Regions from separate parts of the Homo sapiens genome. Here region 1 is linked to region 2. The links are contacts of gene promoters, found by promoter capture Hi-C in blood cells and fetal thymus (Javierre and others, 2016). All regions are on one chromosome and are shown on one strand. Each heading gives the region's core, a stretch centred on a gene start or on the middle of the fragment in contact. The rest is flanking DNA. Distances are from core to core; before and after follow the strand shown. Region 1 overlaps CTNNBIP1 (catenin beta interacting protein 1). Region 2 holds the start of UBE4B (ubiquitination factor E4B).

Region 1 (6,293 bases), core at 686-3,185, 140 kb after region 2:
TTCCCACAGTAAGTTAATGGGATAAACACATGGGAGATTCTGAAGGGGTCTTTGTTTAAAGCATTGTTGATTTTGATTATTGGCTTGTTAAACATTTGGAGAGGAAGGAAACTGAGTCCTCAACAGCCTCTTAGGGGGAGGTTTCCTCCTTCCTTGGATTATGTTTTGTTCCGAGGTAGCTGGAGGGGAAAGGATCAGGAAGGTCGCCTCCTGCTTAGTAGAGCAGAAGCAATCACCCAAACAAGCAAGCAGTGTGGCTCACGTGATGCGTGGAGCCAGGAACCCTGGCCTCTGTAGCACAGATGGGTGTATTTGCGAAGTAAACAGATACACCTATATCTTTATGCAAATTAACACATACCTTTATGCTGACAGCCTGTTGGAAAGAGGCAGTGGCCTTAAAACTTCTTTTCTTTTTTTTTTTTTGAGACAGTCTCGCTCTGTTGCCCAGGCTGGGGTGCAGTGGTGTGATCATAGCTCACTGCAACCTCAGACTCCTGGGCTCTTGGGATCCTCCCACCTCAGCCTCCCAAGTAACTGGGCCTACAGGTGCAAGCCACTGCACACCCAGCTAATCTTTTTTTTTTTTTTTTTTTAGACGGAGTCTCGCTCTGTCCCCCAGGCTGGAATGCAGTGGCGCGATCTCGGCTCACTCCAAGCTCTGCCTCCCGGGTTCACGCCATTCTCCTGCCTCAGCCTCCCGAGTAGCTGGGACCACAGGCACCCACCACCACGCCTGGCTAATTTTTTGTATTTTTAGTAGAGACGGGGTTTCACCGTGTTAGCCAGGATGGTCTTGATCTCCTGACCTCATGATCCGCCCGCCTCAGCTTCCCAAAGTGCTGGGATTAGAGGCGTGAGCCACCGCGCCCAGGCTGCACCCAGCTAATCTTTTAAAGATTTTTTGTAGAAGCCAGGCTCGGTGGCTCATGTCTATAATGCCAGCACTTTGGGAGGCTGAGGTAGGCAGATCACATGAGGTCAGGATTTTGAGACCAGCCTGGCCAACATGGCAAAACCCTGTCCCTACTAAAAATACAAAATAAAATTAGCTGGACATGGTGGCACGCACCTGTAGTCCCAACTACTCGGGAGGCCGAGGCAGGAGAATCACCTGAGACTGGAAGGCAGAGGTTGCAGTGAAACGAGATTGCGCCACTGCACTCCAGCCTGGGCGACAGAGGGAAAGAGCGAGACCCCATCTCCAAAAAAAAAAAAAAAAAAAAAAAAAAAAATTTAAAGAGATGGGGTCTTACTTTATTGCCCAGGCTGGTTTTGAAGTCCAGGCCTCAAGCAATTCTCCTACCTCAGTCTCCCAAAGTGCTGGGATTACAGGCATTTGCCACTGTGCCCAACAAAACTTATTTTCCGAAGAGTTTGATTGGGAAGCGTTTCCCCAGGAGGCTGCACCTGGGGTCTCTCAGCCAGGTCCTGAGGATGACCATCCCCAGAGCCGGGTGGTGAGGAGGGGGCTGCTTCCGGGGGCACAGTCCTGCAGCCGATCCAATTGATTTAATGACCTAATCCTCACCACAGGAAGCTGGAGGCTTTCCCAGCCCTGGGATTCTGAGGGGATGCAGCAAACTCAGTTCAGGAAGCTTGTTTGTTTGAACCAATTATAGAGGCTTTAATGAGGGAAAGCTATGGAGGGAATGGGGCAAGGGGAGAAGAGCTGGAGAGAGAGGTGCCTGTTGAGAAGATCTGGGTGACCCTCAGGCAATGGGAGGGCCGGGCCATGCCCAGGCCTGCCTCTGAGGATGAGGCTTGTCCTTGTGGGAATGGGGTGGCGTGAACATGTCAGTGTGGTTCAGAGTGAAGGGACCTTATGTACCTTGTGGAGAAACGTGAGTGCCCCCCACCCCCGCCAAAAATAGCACTGTGTCAGTTTTCCCCCTTTCTTCTTGAAGTACTTTTAAATTTCCTAATGTAATTAAAATTTTAAGCTGTGACCCTGCAAAGAGCTGGCATAGCTTTTGACAGCGGGATTGATGGAGCTTCCATAGGTCAAAATTTCCAGTCTGATCGCACTCTCTGGAGGTGACCCGCACTCTCTGGAGGTGACCCATGCTCTCCAGAACCTCTGGGCCAGGCTCCATCCCTGGAATTACTAGGTCTGGAAGTGGTCCCTTCCTGACAGAAATGCAAATTAATTTGCCTTTTGGGGACTTAGTCAGCTTGCTGGGGATCTCTCTGGTGTCCCAGGAGAGAAAAAGCGTTCCTCTACCTCCAGTTGACACAGAGGATCTTTTGATGCCTTTGCTCAGGAAGCTTCCTGCCAGGTGCACAGCCCATGGGGAAGGTCGGTCAGGCCTGGGAGGCCTCATACCCAGGAGTGAGGGGGCGCTTGTACCCATGCAAGAGCTAGGATTCCAGCCCTTCCATTGGCTTATAAATAGAAGAAGGCTCTGGATTCTGCATTAGTAACCCCTCTGGAACCTGCCAGAGGCTGAAGGTAATGAGTCAGACTGAATTAAAGGAAGATCCGTGGCTGGATTTTGTAGGCGTGCTGGTTCCTGACTTCAGGTCTCAGGCTCTGACTTGGCCAGGTTCCAGGGCTCCAGCTGTTCTCTGGGAAGAAAAAAGAACCTCTTTTAAAATTAAGCCGAAAGATGCCTTTCTTTTCTTCTGTCCTTGTCCCCCCACTGTGCAGAGAGAAAACCTCCACCAGCACGTCCCCTTGGTTAGAACAGTAGAGCCTGAAGACATAGCCCAGGATCTTCAGTGTTCTGGGGCAGCCAAGGAAACTTCCTCAGGCTCCACATGCCTTCCTGTTTGCATTGTTTTCAGCTGAATTTCAAGAGGCTGTCAGAGCAGGCCTGCCAGGTACTCTTGCCTCTGTAAAAAGGTGGGTTTCACTCAATTCAGGACTGGAGAGACAACGAGATCTGGGCCAGAATCACAAGGATAAATATTTTAAACCAGAAGATGTAAACAGATGCCTCATGCCAATCCAGTTATAGGAACATGCAGGTTCCTCCAGCTCCTTGGTGTGTTAGGATTATCTGAAGTGAGGCCATGCAAAGGCTGGGGGGCACTTCCTTCATGGTTCCCATTCACTTCACCACTCGAGGAGCCCCAGTTGTGGCTAGCAGTGGTGTCTCACCTGTCCAGATTCTTCAGCACAGAGCCTTACAAGTTTTTCTAGGGTCCACAAAAATATTGGCCATGTGGGAAAAAAATATATCACTCCCTCTACTCTTGTGAGTTACGTGAGGATTACATTTAATAAGAGATGTGGGTTTGTTTTAGTATGTCTCTGAGAATAAGGTTCCCTGGGGCCTATAAAGGCCTTAAAACCACCCCCGGTCTGTCCTCAAAGAGCTTCCAGTCTGGTGGTGAACATTTCTCAGATATCCAGGTACAGTGTTGGGGCGGTGATGCGAGAAGAGGAAATGCAGGCGGATGTGCAGACACAGGCCTCGAGGCAGCCCAGAGAAGGTGTTGTAGAGCAGAGAACATCTGTGAGGCTTGGTCTCAGGAATCAGGGAGGGAAGGAAGTTCTAGGTGGAAAGCATAGCAGATGCAGAGGCCCAGAGATGTGGAGGGAGCCTGGTGCAATCGGCAGCTCCGAGATGGCCCCCTAGTAGGGCTTCTCACTCAGCTCTCCAGACGTGGGGCTGGATAATTATTGGTGGTGGGCACTGATCCTGGCCTCTACCCAGCAGGACCCTACTAGTCGTGACAATCAAAAATGTCTCTAGATATTGCCACATTTCTGCCGTGGGGCAGAATCGCCCCCATTGAGAGCCACGGCTGTAGAGGGAATATGAGGGTAAGCTTGGATCTGACCGCCTGCCTCAGTGCGTGGGAGGGACAGAAGGAGCCCTTTCTTTTTGCTTCCTGTCCAGCGTGCAGGTCCTGGGGAAGCTGTCTCCAGGCAGGTTTGTGCCTGTGCTGGAGCACTTTGGTGTGTGTGGCATGCCTGCTGGTGGCCTGCAGAGCTTGCTCTGAACAGGAGCCCCTTCATAGAAAGGAGGATGCCCCAGTGGTTCCAGGCGCCTCCCTCCCAGCCTGGTTGCCGTGTCAGTACCTTTCCTGCAGTAGGTAGGCGGCTCAGCTGGGTGCAGCATTGCATTCTGGCCATTGCGGGGCTGTATTGAATGAGGTCAGGTGGATTTGATTTAAATGCTCCCAGAACCTTCCGAAAGGGCCTTCATCAGAGAGCTCTGGACCTGGAACAGCGTGCACGGCACTGCTGTGAAGGGGACAGGCGGGCTACTCTGATCTCGGAGTGTGCATAGGGCAAACTGTTGAGAATTCCAGAATCACTCCCACGGCAGCAGACCTGTAGCCAGAGAGGAAAGGGTCCTCCTGCATTTGGGCTTCATGGCTGCCCCCACTGGAGGAGGGCTAGCTGTGGCTAACATGGGGTGGTCTGGGATGCGATGCAGATGGCACTGTGTGTAGACAGATGCAGGGCCTCTCCCCATCGCCTTACATTACCATTTCTTAATTTTTTTTTTTTTTGAGGCAGTCTTGCTCTGTCACCCAGGCTGGAGTGCAGTGGCGCGATCTCGGCTCACTGCAGTCTCTGCCTCCTGGGCTCAAGCGATTCTCCTGCCTCAGCCTCACACCCAGCTAATTTTTGGTATTTTTTAGTAGAGACGGGGTTTCACCATGTTTGCCAGGCTGGTCTTGAACTCCTGACCTCAGGTGATCCGCGCACCTCAGCCTCCCAAAGTGCTGGGATTACAGGCATGAGCCACCGCGCCCGGCCACCATGCCCAGCTTTTAAATTTTTTTTTTTATTTTTTGTAGAGATGGGGTTTCACCTTGTTGCCCAGGCTCAAACTCCTGGCCTCAAGTGATACTCCCACCTCAGCCTCCCAAAGCGTTGGGATTACAGGCATGAGCCACTGTGCCCAGACCATATTTTCTTTTTAAAAATTAATTAGCGGGGTGTGGTGGCTCATGCCTGTAATTCCAGCACTTTGGGAGGCTGAGGCAGGTGGATCACTTGAGGTTAGGATTTCAAGACCAGCCTAGCCAACATGGTGAAACCCCGTCTTTACTAAGAATACAAAAATTAGCTGGGTGTGGTGGTGGGTGCCTGTAATCCCAGCTATTAGGAGGCTGAGGCAGGATAATCACTTGAACCCGGGAGGCGGAGGTTGCAGTGAGCTGAGATCGCACCACTGCACTCCAGCCTGGGTGACGGTGTGAGACTCCATCTCAAAAATAATTAATTAATTTCTATTGGTATATAATAATTGTAAGCCTTATTTTCGAATTAATCTCTGATTGGCAGTGGGTTGGACTCTAGCCGTTTTTCTTTTTCCTGTAAGGTGGATTTTTCTTTTTCTTTTTTTTTTCTTGAGACGGAATCTTGCTCTTTTGCCAGGTTGGAGTGCAGTGGCGAGATCTCAGCTCACTGCAACCTCTGCCTCCTGGGTTCAAGCAATTCTCTTGCCTCAGCCTCCCGAGTAGCTGGGATTACAGGCGTGTGCCACCATGCCCAGCTAATTTTTGTAATTTTAGTAGAGACAGGGTTTTACTATGTTGGCGATCTCTTGACCTCCTGATCTGCCCGCCTCCACCTTCCAAAGTGCTGGGGTTACAGGCGTGAGCCACTGTGCCCGGCCCACATTTTTCTTTTAATTTCAGTTAAAATGGATAATGCGTCTGTCAACTCCTGAGCCAGAAGGGGCTGTTAGGAGAGAGGGAAAGCATGGCCTTGGATCCAGGCTTACCACTTATTACTCCATGGCCTCAGGCAGGTTACTTACCTTCTCTGAGCCTCAGTTTTGTCATCCATAAAATGGGAATAATTCCTACCTTGCAGGCTTGTGAGGGCTGACTGACTCTGCCACTCTGTGCCTGGACTTAGAAAATGCTGTGGTGACAACAGTAATTATTCTTCGGTAGCATCACCTGGCTTCAGGGAGCAGGAAGGAGCTTTGCATCAGGTTTGAATTGGGGTTGGTGACCTCAAGACACATTCCCCATCCCAGGCTTATCCCCTAAGAATGGGGCTGTGGCCTGCAAATGCCATGCCTCACTAGGAGGCCTGTTTTGTCCTAGCTCTGCTGGTGGAGTGCGGTTCGGGAATACCGAGCGTGGCTGTGGATGGAGGAGGCTGCAACGTGGAATATATTAATTAAGGCGGTTGCTCCTGAGGCCTGAGAGTCTGGGAGGTTGTTGCAGTTTAATTACTGAGAGTGGAGCGTGTGGAAATTCCCTCTGGCACTCCCTTTTTTGATGTCGCTAGAGGACCTGAGGTGCTACCTTGTGTGGGACTCTAGCAGGAGCTGCGGCAGGCCTCTGCCCCCCGTCCCCCTCGCTGGCTCAGAGTG
Region 2 (5,640 bases), core at 2,686-5,185:
GAAACTCTGCCTTACCTAATTTCCTAAATTAGATTAAAAGATCACCGCCTTGCCTGTTTTAACCCTGAAATATAAGCTTGAAGTTTCAATAATATAAGTGTATTATTTTGTAATCAAATCAATGTCACCTACCATATCTGACACAAGTTTTCAACTACAGAGTAACAATACAAAGGCAAAAGCTTTGGAAATGTCTCATGAGAACTGCTTACCTAACCTCAAAAATTTTTAATTGAATTAAAAAGAAAAACTTCAAAGATATTTTTCCCAAAATAACTATTTGTCTGGCTCCCACTTTGGGAGGCTGAAGTGGGAGGATCGCTTGAGGTCAGGAGTTTGAGACCATCCTGGGAAACATGGCAAGACCCCCGTCTCTACAAAAAAAAAAAAGATTTTTTAAATTAAAAACAAACGAATATTATTTGTTCTAGGTTCTGCTGAGAGTAAAATTAACAGTTATTGAACCAGCCCTTTGTGTTCTGGACAACTAATTTGTTGAAGATAATTTTACATTGATCCTGTATTAGTGAATTTAATTTTTTTCATTTATTTTAATATTCTGTTGACCTTGAAAAAAGTTTATTCTATTTCTTCCACAAAGGTTACATGTGTTCCTCATATGGTCACAAAAAAAAGTTACACCTTCCTCAAGGACTGATGAAAGTGAAGAGACACATTTTAGATTATACAATATCTTCACTGGTCTGTAATGCCTCACTGGTTTGAAAAGAATTTTTTGGTGAAAACTCAAGTATGCAAAAGCCTCTAAACCAAGGACTATTAACAGATCATCAAAAAAAAAAAAAAAAAGTAATTTATAGGAGTAAAGGACTACTAAAAAACTACCTCGGCCGGGCGCGGTGGCTCACACCTGTAATCCCAGCACTTTGGAAGGCCGAGGCGGGCGGATCACGAGGTCAGGAGATTGAGACCATCCTGGGCTAACACGGTGAAACCCCGTCTCTACTAAAAACACAAAAAATTAGCCGGGCGTGGTGGCGGGCGCCTGTAGTCCCAGCTACTCGGGAGGCTGAGGCAGGAGAATGGCGTGAACCCGGGAAGCGGAGCTTTGCAGTGAGCTGAGATCGCGCCACTGCACTCTAGCCTGGGCAACAGAGCGAGGCTCCGTCTCAAAAAAAATAAAATAAAATAAATAAAAAATAAAAAAAAATAAAAAAACTATCTCTGGCCGGTCACGGTGGCTCACGCCTGTAATCCCAGCACTTTGGGAGGCCGAGGCGGGCAGATCACAAGGTCAGGAAATCGAGACCATCCTGGCTAACACAGTGAAACCCCGTCTCTACTAAAAACACAAAAAAATACAAAAAACTAGCCGGGAGTGGTGGCGGGCGCTTGTAGTCCCAGCTACTCCGGAGTCTGAGGCAGGAGAATGGCGTGAACCCGGGAGGCAGAGCTTGCAGTGAGCTGAGATAGCGCCACTGCACTCCAGCCTGGGCGACAGAGCGAGACTCCGCCTCAAAAAAAAAAAAAAAAAAAAAAAAACAGTATCTCTGCCTTAAGAGAAATTACTCACTAGAATTAACATTAATGAAAAACGGGGGAGGTAGAGAAACTTTTAAAAAACCACATAAAACAGGCCAGGCGCGGTGGCTCACGCCTGTAATCCCAGCACTTTGGGAGGCTGAGGCGGGTGCATCACGAGGTCAAGAGATGGAGACCATCCTGGCCAACATGGTGAAACCCCATCTCTACTAAAAATACAAAAAATAGCCGGGCGTGGTAGCGGGCGCCTGTAGTCCCAGCTACTCAGGGGGCTGAGGCAGGAGAATGGTGTGAACCCGGGAGGCGGAGCTTGCAGTGAGACGAGATCGCGCCACTGCACTGCAGCCTGGGCGACAGAGCAAGACTCCGTCTCAAAAAAACAAACAAACAAAAAAAAACCCACATAAAATAAAGCGATTCTAAGGAGATTTCCTACCGAATGAAAGAAACTGTGTAATATTCTCTTCACTTAAGATTACATTTCTGCTGTATTCGAAAAAAACAAAGTAACGCCGAATGGGCAGTCCTGATTTTCCAAACCAAGTATCCAAGTATCACAATCAACAAAATCATTTGCTTCCTTTCCTACCTGACCCTTAACACACCACTGCGTGTCCTATCCCAGGAGAATTTCAGTCCCTAAGTAAACACACTAAGTACTCTGTAGCTAAAACTGGAGCATGGAAGTCTTGTAGTACAATCAACTTGATGGATGACTGCTTTCCTAATACTGTAGGGAAGTTTACATGATGAACCAGTGAAGAAATGTGGAGGTAGGCTAAAGAGGGTATGGCCAGTAGGGGTCCTGAAAGGGAAGCTCCTAATTTGCAAAAAGGAAGAGAAAAGGCAGTAGAATCATAGGAAATTCCTTGTACCCTAATTGCCACTGCTTTTTGGTTGTTTTTTTTTTTACAACAACCTAATTTATTAAACAATCTTTAAAACATCAAGAAGTAGATCTGTATAACTCCTTTAAGAAATGAGAACAGGAGAGAGTTTAGAAAGTCATTTGCTTCCACTTGCTTCCCGTTCAGTCTCTGCTACAGCAAAACACAAGTTTGAAAGATTCAAGAAGTAGGAAAAGATAGAATGTAACAGAAGAATGCCAGAAGTCATTAGTGGTCTATTAAGTACCAGAATATAACTGGAATTCTCTAAACTGTGGAGAAGATACATATTTTGTTAAATATCAAAGAATCTGTCTGTAAACCACCCCTCAAGCAAAAATATATGTTTAATCAAGCTTATACAGTGCAATAACCACACATATCTGGAATTTCAAATGCTTTCTTTAAAAATATTCACCCACCATACATTCTCATTCCATCCAAAATTGTTCTTTAAATTCCTGAAGACACAGACACACACACACTTTAACTTCATGTAAATCTCGCCCTTCTTGTTCGCATACCCTGAAGAAAAGAATAAACACCTCAAGATGCTCTCTCCTCTTGTTCATACCCTAAAAGAACACTCGGAAAGAAGCAAATGGAGTTCAGAATGAAGAAAGAAGGCAACAGAATAAAGGAGAACAAAACCAGAGACCCTATCGGGGAGTCACGTTATTCTTGGAAAATATCATCTCCGTTCCTTCTCCAAGCCCAAAGGCCAGACAGCACTGGCGCAATACCATCCCTGTCCAAAGCGCTAACGAGTTGCCAACTAATCCCTCAAGGTGTCCCCCAACCTCCTCACCTCATCAGCGCTCAGCTCCTCCATCGCTTTCCTCTTAATGGTGAAAGGCGTTAAGGAGAGATCCTTCTGTTCTCGAGACCACGGCGGGAGGAAGGAGAGTGGAAGGTGTCTATCAGGCTGTCTGGTCCCCCGAATGGGGGAGGTTTCAGAATTGCATAGTCAGAGGTTAAAAAATAAGAACACGAGAGGCACTAAACTGCCTTGGCTTCGGTCACTCCAGTCGCCCCACAGACTACTACAGCCGCTTGTTCCCTGAGCAGCCTCCTTTGGCCGCCACTGCTGCTGCTACAGGGTTGTCTTAAGGCGCCACTTATTACCCTCTGCTTCCCAGGTTACCCAGCTAGGCAGCGCGGTCTCCAGTTCGTCTCGTGCCCCGAGCCTGCTGTTTCTTCGTGATAGTGGCGCGGTAGCTGCGTTCCTACAGCAGATCCTGCTCTCCTTCCTACCCTTTGCTCCTGGCGGGAACTGGTCGACTGCAGAGTGGATACCCCGAGGTAAGGCGACCCCACAGCCGTCCTGGCAGAGCCCAGCACTGTAAGGGAAGCCCCTCCCCTCCCAAAGCAGGCCGGCCACGCCCCGCCTCCACGCCGGAGCCCGGGTAGGGGGGAGGGGGAGGATGGGATGCGCGTAGCTCTCGCTGGAAGAGTAAATCCTCCTACCCCTCCACCCCTACTCTTTCCCCCTCGCCCCACCAAGTATTATTCATCAAAACAACAGGGCGGCCATCTTTGAAAGGGATCACGTGACCCCCGTCAGGGAGGCGGGGCTTCTGGCGCCGGGACGTGGCAGCCAATAGGCCGCGGGCGCCGCGCCGCCGAGTTCCTCTCGCCTGCGTCCTCTCCCCGCCTCCGTCCCACCCCGTCCCGCGCAGCCGCGCCGGACGTGGGGAGGGGCAAAGGGAGGCTGGCGGCTGGGCGGGGCGTTGCCACGGCGACCGCGCTGGGGCTGCGGGCGCGGCGGGCCTGAGCCAGGTAGGCTGGCAAGGGGAGGGACGACTCCCAGACTCGCGTCGGGGAAGATCCACCAGAAGGTGGCGCTGGCCCGCGGCCCGGGGGCCCGCCGCGCCTCCGTTGTTCCCAATCGCCTGCTTTTCTGTGACTTGGGGGCCTAGAAACACCTCATCGCTCCCACTGGACTGTGCGCGCCCGCCGCCTAAGCGAGGGAAAAGAAAACGGAAAACGTCTCCTTGACCCCGGGAGCGTGATCTACCGTATTGAGCGCTCATTTTCTGAAACATCTGCCACACACTCTTCCACCTCCTCCAGGAAAGCCCAGTTGGAAGAAAACTCGAACACAAGAACTCCCATTCATTTTATTTTACCTTGGCCTTTTAGAGATACTTCCTGGGTTTTTTTTTTTTTAAGTGTGTTCAAAAAGTATTGGTAAAATTTGAAAGTATAAATGGATGAGAGACCCAAATCACTGAATTGTACACAGCAAATGCAAGGAAGACGTTTGGAGTCAGTGGGGGAAAACCATCCTCCGGTGCACAAGAATACAAATATTTGGCCGGGCGCGGTGGCTCACGCCTGTAATCCCAGCACTTTGGGAGGCCGAGGCGGGCGGATCACGAGGTCAGGAGATCGAGACCATCCTGGCTAACACGGTGAAACCCCGTCTCTACTAAAAAATACAAAAAATCAGCCAGATGTGGCGGCGGGCGCCTGTAGTCCCGGCTACTCGGGAGGCTGAGGCAGGAGAATGGCGTGAACCCGGGAGGCGGAGCTTGCAGTGAGCCGAGATCGCGCCACTGCACTCCAGCCTGGGCGACAGAGCGCGACTCCATCTCAAAAAATATATATATATGTATGTATATATATATTTATAAAATATAAATCTAAGTTGAGCGATCAAAGTAACAGTACCATGAAATTCCAGATTTTGCCGCTGACGAAGACTATAAGTGGATTGGATGGCTCACTAAGCCATAAAGACTGCATTCCAGAATTAAGAGTTACAATGTATTTGCTACATGCTTAAAATAGGAACCTGACTACTAGATATGTAAGGAATTTGTGAGTAAAAATATGTAAGGAATTTGTGAGTAAAAATAAATCACTGCTGGCTTTGCATATTATCTGCTCTCCAGGAAAGGAATTCTGTGTAAGCCAGAACTTGAACCCCTGGTGACATTGATGTTAAAAGTTTACTTTTTTTAACCTCATTATTGCCATCTAATTTACATACCATACAATTCACCCAATTAAGGTGTACAGTGGTTTTATTATGTTCACAGTTCAGTCATCCTCACTGTCCAATTTCAGAACATTTTCATCATCCCAAAAAGAAACCCTCAAAGCCATTAACAGTCACTCCCGGGCTGGGCGCAGTGGCTCACGCCTGTAATCCCAGCCCTTTGGGAGGCCAAGGCGGGTGGATCAAGAGGTCCGGAGTTTAAGACCAGCCTGGCCAAGATGGTGAAATACAAAATACAAAAATTAG

The links. The method cuts DNA at HindIII sites, captures the fragments that hold promoters and counts their contacts. A CHiCAGO score of 5 or more calls a contact.
Region 1: a fragment that was not itself captured here is called in contact with the fragment with the promoter of UBE4B in region 2 in 5 of 17 cell types (M2 macrophages, naive B cells, endothelial precursors and 2 more); the score reaches 6.2 in M2 macrophages.

The regions. Positions count from the first base shown.
Region 1 is chr1:9,886,724-9,893,016 of GRCh38, reverse strand. All of the region lies in intron 1 of CTNNBIP1 (catenin beta interacting protein 1), which reads left to right. Among named protein-coding and RNA genes, the nearest start is that of CTNNBIP1, 20 kb to the left of the region's middle. RefSeq lists an enhancer at 5,636-6,224. The HindIII fragment of the contact is 670 bases long and covers 1,601-2,270 here.
Region 2 is chr1:10,031,253-10,036,892 of GRCh38, reverse strand. It overlaps UBE4B (ubiquitination factor E4B), which reads right to left and starts at 3,935. Exons shown (of 28, transcript NM_001105562.3): 1 at 3,199-3,935. The coding sequence starts at 3,222. RefSeq lists enhancers at 3,068-3,117, 3,509-4,163 and silencers at 3,678-3,897, 3,928-4,317. The HindIII fragment of the contact is 8,691 bases long and covers 2,749-5,640 here.